Linked DNA regions of Homo sapiens: region 1 is linked to region 2. The links are contacts of gene promoters, found by promoter capture Hi-C in human tissues and cell types (Jung and others, 2019). All regions are on one chromosome and are shown on one strand. Each heading gives the region's core, a stretch centred on a gene start or on the middle of the fragment in contact. The rest is flanking DNA. Distances are from core to core; before and after follow the strand shown.

What was found. Contacts are between HindIII fragments. The study calls those that stand out against the background at their distance.
Region 1: a contact is called between a fragment that was not itself captured here and the fragment with the promoter of FBLN5 in region 2, in 3 of the 25 tissues and cell types used here (aorta, mesendoderm cells and pancreas).

Annotation. Positions count from the first base shown.
Region 1 is chr14:91,761,301-91,766,204 of GRCh38, forward strand. No RefSeq gene overlaps it. Among named protein-coding and RNA genes, the nearest start is that of CATSPERB, 32 kb to the left of the region's middle. The HindIII fragment of the contact is 5,541 bases long and covers 1-4,300 here.
Region 2 is chr14:91,944,856-91,949,615 of GRCh38, forward strand. It overlaps FBLN5 (fibulin 5), which reads right to left and starts at 2,839. Exons shown (of 11, transcript NM_006329.4): 1 at 2,358-2,839. The coding sequence starts at 2,374. The HindIII fragment of the contact is 12,789 bases long and covers 1-4,760 here.

The DNA of each region.
Region 1 (4,904 bases), core at 280-2,779, 180 kb before region 2:
AAAGAAGTATGGGACTACATAAAACAAGCAAACTGATAAATCACAGGCATTCCCAAGGGAGAAGAAAAAGCAAAAAGTTTAGAAACACTATTTGACTCACGCCTGTAATCCCAGAACTTTGGGAGGCCGAGGTGGGCGGCTGGCGGATCACGAGGTCAGGAGATGGAGACCATCCTGGTTAACATGGTGAAACCCCGTCTCTACTAAAAAAGTACAAAAAATTAGCCGGGCGTGGTGGTGGGCACCTATAGTCCCAGCTACTCAGGAGGCTGTGGCAGGAGAATGGCGTGAACCCAGGAGGCGGAGCTTGCAGTGAGCCGAGATCGCACCACTGTACTCCAGCCCAGGCGACGGAGCAAGACTCCGTCTCAAAAAAAAAAAAAAAAAAAAAGTATTCGAGAAAATAATTGAGGAAAACTTCTCTAGTCTACCAAGAGATTTAGACATTCAGATATAAGAGGCCCAGTGAACTCTAGGAAAACATGTTGCCTCACGACAACATATAGTCATCAGATCATCTAAAGTTAACATGAAGGAAAAAAATCCTAAATTCTGCAAGAGGAAAGCAGCTAGTCGCCTGATACAGTTTGGATGTTTTCTCACTCCAAATCTCATGTTGAAATATAATTCTCATTGTTGGAGGTGGAGCCTAGTGGGAGGTGTTTGGCTCACGGGGGCAGATTCCCCATGAATAGCTTTGTGCCCTCCCTGAGATAATTAGTGGTGATGGATTCATATGAGATCCGGTTGTTTAAAAGAGTGTAGCACCTCCCCTATCTCTTTCTTGCTCCTGCTCTTGCCATGTGACACAATAGTTCTCATTCACCTTCCTCCATGACTGTAAGTTTCCTGAGGCCTCACCAGAAGCCAAGCAGATTCTGGTAACATGCTTATACAGACTGCTGAACCATGAGCTAAATACTTTATAAAATACTCAGCCTTGGGTATTTATTTATAGCAATGCAAAAATGGCCTAACACATCACCTATTAAGGAAACTCCATCATACTAACAGCAGACTTCTCGGCAGAAACTTCAGAAGCCAGAAGAGATTGGGATTCTATTTTCAAAGTGCTTAAAGAAAAAACTGCCAACCACTAATCTTGTATCCTGCTGGAATAAGCTTTATAAATGAAGGCAAAATGAAGTCTTTCCCAGAGAAGCAAATACCCAAGGAATTTGTTACCACTAGACCAGTCCTACCATAAATGTTAAAGGAGTTTTAAACATGGAAGTGAAAGATCAATATTTGCCATCATAAAAACATATGACAGTATTGTCAATGAAAAGAGTTAAACTCTGTAAAATATTTGAAGAAACTTATTCTGAGCCAAATATGAGTGACCATGGCCCATGACACAGCCCTCAGGAGGTCCTGAGAACATGTGCCCAAGGTGGTTAGGATGCAGCTTGGTTTTATATATTTTAGGGAGACATGAGACTTCAATAAAAAAAATTTAAGAAATACATTGGTTTGGTCCAGAAATGCAGGACAACTTGAAGTGGGGGCTTCCTGCTTATAGGTAGATTTAAAAACTTTCTGATTGACAATTGGTTGGGTTTATCTAAAGACCTGGGATCAATAGAAAGGAACGTCTGGGTTAAGATAAAGGATTGTGGAGACCCAAGTTCTTATTTGCAGAGGAAGTCTTCAGGTACTAGGCTTCAGAGATCATAGGTTGTAAAATGTTTCTTATCAGACTTAAAGTCTGTGTTGATGTTAATGCCAGAGAGGTATAATGAGGCATAACCAACCCTCATTTCCCATCATGGCCTGAAACAGTCTCTCAGGTTAAATATTAAAAGAGCCTTGGTTGAGGAGGAAGTCCATTCAGATGGTTGAGGGGGGGCTTAGTATTTTATTTTTGGTTTACAGTATAAAACTCATAGGTCTTATAAAACAATCACACAGAGAGGACAGGGGAAGAAATCAAATGACAAAACAACAAATGACCAAATCACAAAGACAGATGGACAAAAAAAAAAAAAACCAAAGAATCTACAAAGAAACTAGATAACAATTAATAACATACTAGAAACAAAACCTCACATATCAATATTAACCTTGAACGTAAATGTATTAAACACTACACTTAAAATATATAGATTCATGGAATGGATTAAAAAAAAAAAACATGAACGAACTATATGCTGCTTACAAGAAACTCACCTTACTGATAAAGACACTTACAGTAAGGAGGTAAAGTGGTAGAAAAAGATATTCCATGCAAATGGAAACCAAAAGTGAGCAGGAATAGCTATACTTATATCAGATAAAACAGACTTTAAATCAACAACAGTAAAAAAAAAACTACCAAAAAAAGTTATTATACAATGCTAAAGGGATCAATTCAATGAGAGGATATAACAATCCTAAATATATATGCACCCAATGCTATAGCACCCAGATTCATAAAAACAAATATTACTAGACCTAAAGAGGGTAATAGACAGCAATACAATAATAGTAGGGAATGTCAACACCTAACTCAGCACTAGAGAGATCATCAAGACAGAAAATTAACAAACACTGGACTTTAATTGGACTTTAGACCAAATGAACTTGACAGACATTTACAGAAGATTCTACCCAAAAACAGCAGAATGTATATTGTTCTCATCAGCACATGGAGCATTCTCCAAGACAGTTCAAAGAAGAACTGGTACTGAACCTCCTCAAAATGTTCCCCAAAATTGAGGAATCCTTCCTGACTCATTCTGCAAAGCCTGTATCACCCTGATATCAAAGCCAGACAAGGACATAACAACAACAACAACAACAAAAACTATAGATCAATATCCCTGATGAACACAGATGCAAAAACCCTCAACAAAATACTAGCAAACTGAATCTAACAGCACATCAAAAAGATAATATACCACAATCAAGTAGGTTTTATTCCAGGGATGCAAGGAGAGTTCAACAAACACAAGTCAATAAATGTGATTCACCACATCAACAGAATTAAAACAAAAACCATACGATCATCTCAATAGATGCAGAAAAAGCATTTGATGAAATTCAGCATCCCTTCATGATAAAAGTCCTAAAAAAAGAGGTATAAAAGATCATTATACAAAATAATAAAAAGCATATATGACAAACCCACAGCCAACATCATACAGAATGAGGAAAAGTTAAAGGTATTCCCCCTAAAAACTGGTACAAGACAAGGATACCCACTTTCACCACTCCTATTCAACATACTACTGGGAGTCCTAGCCAGAGCACTCAGGCAAGAGGAAGAAATAAAAGGTATCCAAATTGGAAACAAGAAAGTTAAATTATCTGTTTGCTGACAATATGAGCTTATACCTAGAAAAGCCCTAAAGATGCCTCTAAAAGGCTCCTAGATTTGATAGATGGATTCGGTAAAGTTTCAGAATACAAAACCAATGTATAAAAATCAGTAGCATTTCTATATATCAAGAATGATCAAGTTGAGAACCAAATCAAGAACTCAATCCCATTTACACTAGATTAAAACATATATCTAGGAATATATTATTTAATGAAGGAGGTGAAGATCTCTATAAGAAACACTATAAAACACTAATTTTTAAAAAGTATTAACAGATGACATAAACAAATGGAAAAATATTTCAGGCTCATGGAATAGAAGAAACAATATCATTAAAATGATCATACTGCTCAAAGAAATCTACAGATTCAATGCAATTCCTATCAAAATATCAATATCATTTTTCACAGAATTAGAAAAACCAGTCCTAAAATCCATATGGAACCAAAAAAGAGTCCAAATTACCAAAGCAATCCTAAGCAAAAAGAACAAAGCTAGAGGCATCACATTATCAACTTCAAATTAGAAGAAAACCTGTTAGGGAAAACTCTTCTGGACATTGACCTAGGCAAAGAATTCATGACTAAGACCTCAAAAACAATTGCAAAAAAAAAAAAAAAACACACACAAAATAGAAAAATGGGACTTCAATAAACTAAAAAGTTTCTCCACAGCAAAAGAAATAATCAATGGAGTAATTACTTGAAAAATCAGATAAAATATCTGCAAACTATGCATCTGACAAAGGATTACTATCCAGAATCTACAAGGAACTCAAATAAGTCAACAACAAAAATACAAATAACCCCATTTAATAGTGGGCAAAGGATGTGAAAAGACATTTTTCCAAATAAGACATGGAAATGGCCAGCAAGCATATGAAAAAATGATTAACATAATCATAGGAGAAATGGCAAATTAAAAGCACCATGACATATCATCTCACACCAGTTTAAAAGGCTACTTTTTAAAAGTCAAAAAAAGGCCCGGTGCAGGTGGCTCATGCCTGTAATCCCAGTACTTTGGGAGGCTGCGGCAGGCGGATCACCAGGTCAGGAGTTCAAGACCAACCTGGCCAACATATTGAAATCCTGTCTCTACTAAAGATACAAAAATTAGCCAGGTGTAGGGGTATACGCCTGTAATCCCAGCTACTTGGGAGGCTGAGGCAGAAGAATAACGTGAACCCGGGACGCGGTGATCACACCATTGCACTCCAACCCCGGGTGACAGTGCAAGACTCTATCTCAAAAAAAAAAAAATTGATGTTAATGAGAATGTGGAAAAAAAGGGAATGCTTATATACTATCAATAGGAATATAAATTAGTATAACCTCTATGAAAAATATGGAGATTCCTCAAAGAACTAAAAATAGAACTACTATTCAATCTAGCAATCTCATTATTGTTTAATTTACCCAAAGGAAGTCATATTAAAAAGTCATATAAAAAAGATACCTGCACTCATAACTTTATGGCAGCACTATTCACAATAGCAAAGATATAGACTCAACGTAAGTGGTGTCCATCAGCAGATGATTTGATAAAGGAAATATGGTATATATATACCACATCTATATACATATATATATAATTATACATA
Region 2 (4,760 bases), core at 1,589-4,088:
AGAGTTCTGGAGATTGCACAGCAATGTGAATGCAGTTAACACTACTGAACTAGACTCTTCAAAATGGTTATGGTAGAAAAAAAGACAAAATCAGGCTGGGCATGGTGGCTCCCACCTCTAATCCCAGCACTTTGGGAGGCCGAGGTGGGTGGATCACCCGAGGTCAGGAGTTTGAGACCAGCCTGGGCAACATGGTGAAACCCCGTCTCTACTAAAAATACAAAAATTAGCCGACTGTGGTGGCAGGCGCCTGTAGTCCCAGCTACTCTGGAGGCCAAGGCAGACAAATCACTTGAACCCAGGAGGCAGAGGTTGCAGGGAGCCGAGATTGCGCCACTGCATTCCAGCCCGGGAGACAGCGAGACTCCGTCTCAAAAAAAAAAAAAAAAAGAAAATCTAAACAAAAGCAGAGCGTTATCTAGTACTATTATTCAGTTCAACAGCAGTTTATCCAAGCAACTACTGCTTGTGGGTGTGGATGCCAGATGGAGGAGCTACAGAACTGTGAAACAACCACTACCCTTGAGAACCAGTTGGGGAGCCACGACAATGTCCATACACCTTGGCAAGGGCATGGAAAGAAATACCTATTGGGTGCCATAACAACCAGGCTGTGGGTAGCAACAAGACTTCCTGGAGAAGGTGATCTTGAAGGCTTCTTCAACAGAGCAGTGAACCTGGGGACATGGCTGAATTCTGGGGCCCGTTACTACAAACGTGCACCACAACAATATAATCCCTCCCTTTCAGGACACATGGCCCATCTGCATCAGCAACCCTGGGTATTAGAGGACCTGGAGTTAAGCTGACATCCAGAGGGAATAGGGCCCTGATACGATCTTAGGAGATGCGAGGCCATTTCCTTTATCGAGTCCCCAATCCAAAAAATAAGGACGCTGAGAGTCCACAAGTTTTCATGTAAGTGCCTGGGTGAGCCAGATTCTAGAACGCTGGAGACAGCTCTGACCTTATAAAGTGCAGAGCCAAATCCCAGGGCTTTTTGATATTTGCCATGGCCAGATTTATATCTGGAAGGAATGAAAGAACAATAACAAATTTATTTTCCAGTCTGTGTATTATGAATTTCAATGTTTTCCTGTTTCTTCACATGAAGTTTCCTTTCAGTTGGTTATAAAACCCTGTCTCGTTTATGTTGGAGAAAGAACAGGCTGACTGCAACACAGTGGACTTCAAGAGCTAGTTGAAAAGGCATGCTAACCCCATCTTTCCCCCTACTCCCCGCAGCCCCATTCCCTTTGGCTAGAGGCAGCCCTGGGACAGGTCTTGCCTCAAGCCCAGCCTCTTGGAAGAGCCACAGCTGAGTCCTGGGGGCCAAACAGGTTCCAGGCTAATAGGATTTTCCTAAAATGAAAGAATACCCAAGCACTACTGCCTCACAGCATCACGAATAGCTGCACCTTGTGATTAAAAAAAAAAAACCCTGGAAACTCCAAAAATGAACTAACTATAAGAATAGCTGGGGGGAGGCAGGTTGGTGCTCATAACCGGTCCTGGGAACTTTCTAAAGCAGGTGGGTTCGCCGGTGTTGTGCCTCAGCCTGAAACACAAGGAAAGCCGGAGAGACCAACCAAATACCAGGACTGCCTGTCACAGAAGTGCTGGTCCCCAATCCAGGATGACATTGTTACAGCTTAGTTTTCAGCACACACACACACACACACACACCCCACAGACACATACATACGCACACAAGGTTAATTTGTTCAAAGCAGTATGTTTTCAAGAGCTCGCTGAATAAAGACTGTGGGTGTCATTTAGGTAAAGTTCTCCAAGACTTAAGGATTACTTAACTGTAATTGCAATTTCCTTAAAGAATAGCAAAACATTTGCTTACATGTATCTCTGTCTGCAGTTCCCACTTCTCATTGGCTTGAAACTTCTGTGAGAATCCCACACAAACATAGAGCAAATCCAGCCCCGCGGTGTTCAGCTAGCCTGTCTGCTTGTCTATCAGCCGATGCGGCGCAGTAATTGCTAGTGAACTAGTAATTGGCCTCCCGAAATTTAAAAAATACATACAAAAATCCCTTAAAACGACAAAGTTGCTGCCCTTTCCAGAAAAGAAAGAGGAATGAAGCGCTGAGAATTTCGCAGCCCTCTCTGATGCTGGCTTTTGAAACTGTATTAGAAAATACCCACTCCCAAAAGAACGCTTCAAGATGGAAATTACAGAGGCGCAGCTTTTTATAATTAACAATATCATTGCATCACTAGCTCATGCCTTTTCCAATATCCTGACACCGCCTGAATCGCAGCCATAACCATTTTCCACCCATCGGATTTTTAGCAAGGCTTCCAGACCCTGGAGAAAGAAAAGTCCAGCGCCGAGAACCCACCTTTTTATTCCTGGCATGTCCAAGACGCGCGAGGAGGAGATGCGAAGGCGAGAAGAAAGCTCGCGGGCGGGACCCCCGGAGGAGCTCGGGCACGTCGGCCTCCTCTGGGCCCTCGGGGCTCGCGGGTGTTTTATTCCAGAGGGGCCGAGCGAGTCGTGGAGAGGACACGGGGAGAGCGCCGGGGTCCTCCCAGCCACTGCAGAGCCCTCAGCGCAAGCACCTGGTTTTGCTTAGCCCTCTTCAGTAATTCAGCATTAAACCAATTGGAGGAGGAATGTTAAAAATGAACACTTCATTTTCTAAGTATGTTAAACAATGCAAATGGGGCCTCAGTCTGGACACAGCTGGTTCAGATTACAGCGCTCACCAACTGGCTAGACTCCTCACAACAATCTTGGGGCGTCTGCCAGGGCCCAGTGCTCGGCGCTGGGAGGAGAGCCCTTCCCCGGCCGCGCTCGGCTGCGAGCGCCCGGGCAGAAGGCGAGGGGCGGGCGCGCGCAGGGGTGCGGGGGCTGGGAGGGCCCGGGCCCCTTGACCTTCCCACCCAGGGGCGGGGCGGGGCTGGCAGCGCGGCCCGGCGGGGAGGGGCGTGCACGCCCGCGCTGCGTGGCAAGGGGACCCGCGAGAACGTTGTCGCCTCCGGAAGGAAAGGGACTTGAACTCACGACCCACGCAGCTCCAGGGACTAGAAACTCACGATCGATTGGGAAACCAGAACCTACGAAGCAGAGGCTTGGGGCGAGCGACGGGAGAGTCGCGATCTTCCCGAAGAAGGGGTGGGGAGCAGCGGGGTGGGGTGGGGGGGAAGAGGATGGAATCCCGCTGGTGCGAATTCCAGACTTCAGCTTGTGCAATGCAAGTCTTAGGACGCTTTTCTCTCCCCGCCCTCATTCCCCGATTCTCCCTGGCATTTTCTCGCTTTCCTGGAAAAGTGTCCCCTGGCTCGAAAGTGATTTTAACAAGTTAAACGGTGATTTGAAGAAGGGACAGTCTGGAAAAGCAGAATGGTGGAGACAGCACATAAGACATGCTGAGTCCTTTGCATTCATTCTAGTGGAGGCTTCAACCTGTTTCTTTTTCCTGTTTGTTTGTTTGTTTGTTTGTTTGTTTTTAAGCCATTGGAGTACTTTTGTCAATGAAATCTTACAGAAGGCACTCACTCTATAAAACGCCAGTGGATGGACTGTGGCCTATCCCATCTGCTTCCACCTGCATCTTCCTACCTGCAGCCGAAAAGCCCTGATCCAGGTCCCCTGTCCTCACCACCACTCTAAGCAGTAGGAATGATCATCTCCATGTTATTAGAGGTGAAGATAAGAGAGGTTAGGTAACCTCCCCATAGTCACGCAGCTATTCATTGGTACAGCTGAGCCTCTGGAGTCTACATATTTAGCCTTCCCTAAGGCATTTTTGGGGGTAAGTAAATGGAATTCTACCCAAAGGAGAATAACAGAATGTGGATAGTTGTTGAAGCTGTGTCCATTATACTAGTCTAATCTATTTCCTTTTACGTGTTTGAAATTTCCTGTAAAACACTTTTTTAAATACCTTATGTTTATAAGGTTGTTCATCCCCCCATTGTTTGTAAAAGCAAAAGATTATAAACACCTTTAAGGTCGATCAGCAAGGCACCAATAGGGTTAAATAAAGTAAGGGGCTTCCAAAGGGACTATTGTGCAACCAATTAAAACCTAGACACTTAAGAGTCCACATCAAACGACTCCATTTATATAAAATTCAAAGTCAGATAGTGACTGGGAGGCAGCCCAGCCCCTTCTGGGTGCTGGTAATAATCTAATGATTGATCTGGATGCTGGTTATGTAGGGGTGTGTACATTTAATATTTGTGAAGTCTTATGTATGTTATATCTTATTTTGAAAAAAAGACTGAAACAGCTCCGTATGCACTGCTATTGAAGGGTTTCCAATATATTTTGTGGGTCAAAACAGTAGAATATTGGTAATTTCACATAGATTGATCTAATATAGTAATAAATGTAAAAAGTAAGCTGCAGAACTGTGTGTAAAGCATGCCATCATTTGTGGGAAAAAAAATAAATACATAAGTTCTTGCTTGTACACGTACAGAAAAGACATCACCTGAAGGATGCACAAGAAACCATGAGTATTATTGGTCTTAGCTCAGGCTGCTATAACAGAATACCATAGACTGGGTGGTTTATGCAATAACATTTATCTCTCCCAGTTCTGGAGGCTGGAAGTCTGAGATCAGGGTGTGGGCATAGCCAGGTTCTCATGAGGGTCCTCTCCTGGTTGCAGATGACTGTCTTCTTGCTATGTCCTCACATGATGGAGAGAGGGAGACTAGGGTTCCTTTTTTTGAGATGGAGTCTCACTCTCTCGCCCAGGCTGGAGTATGGTGGTGTAATCTCGGCTCACTGC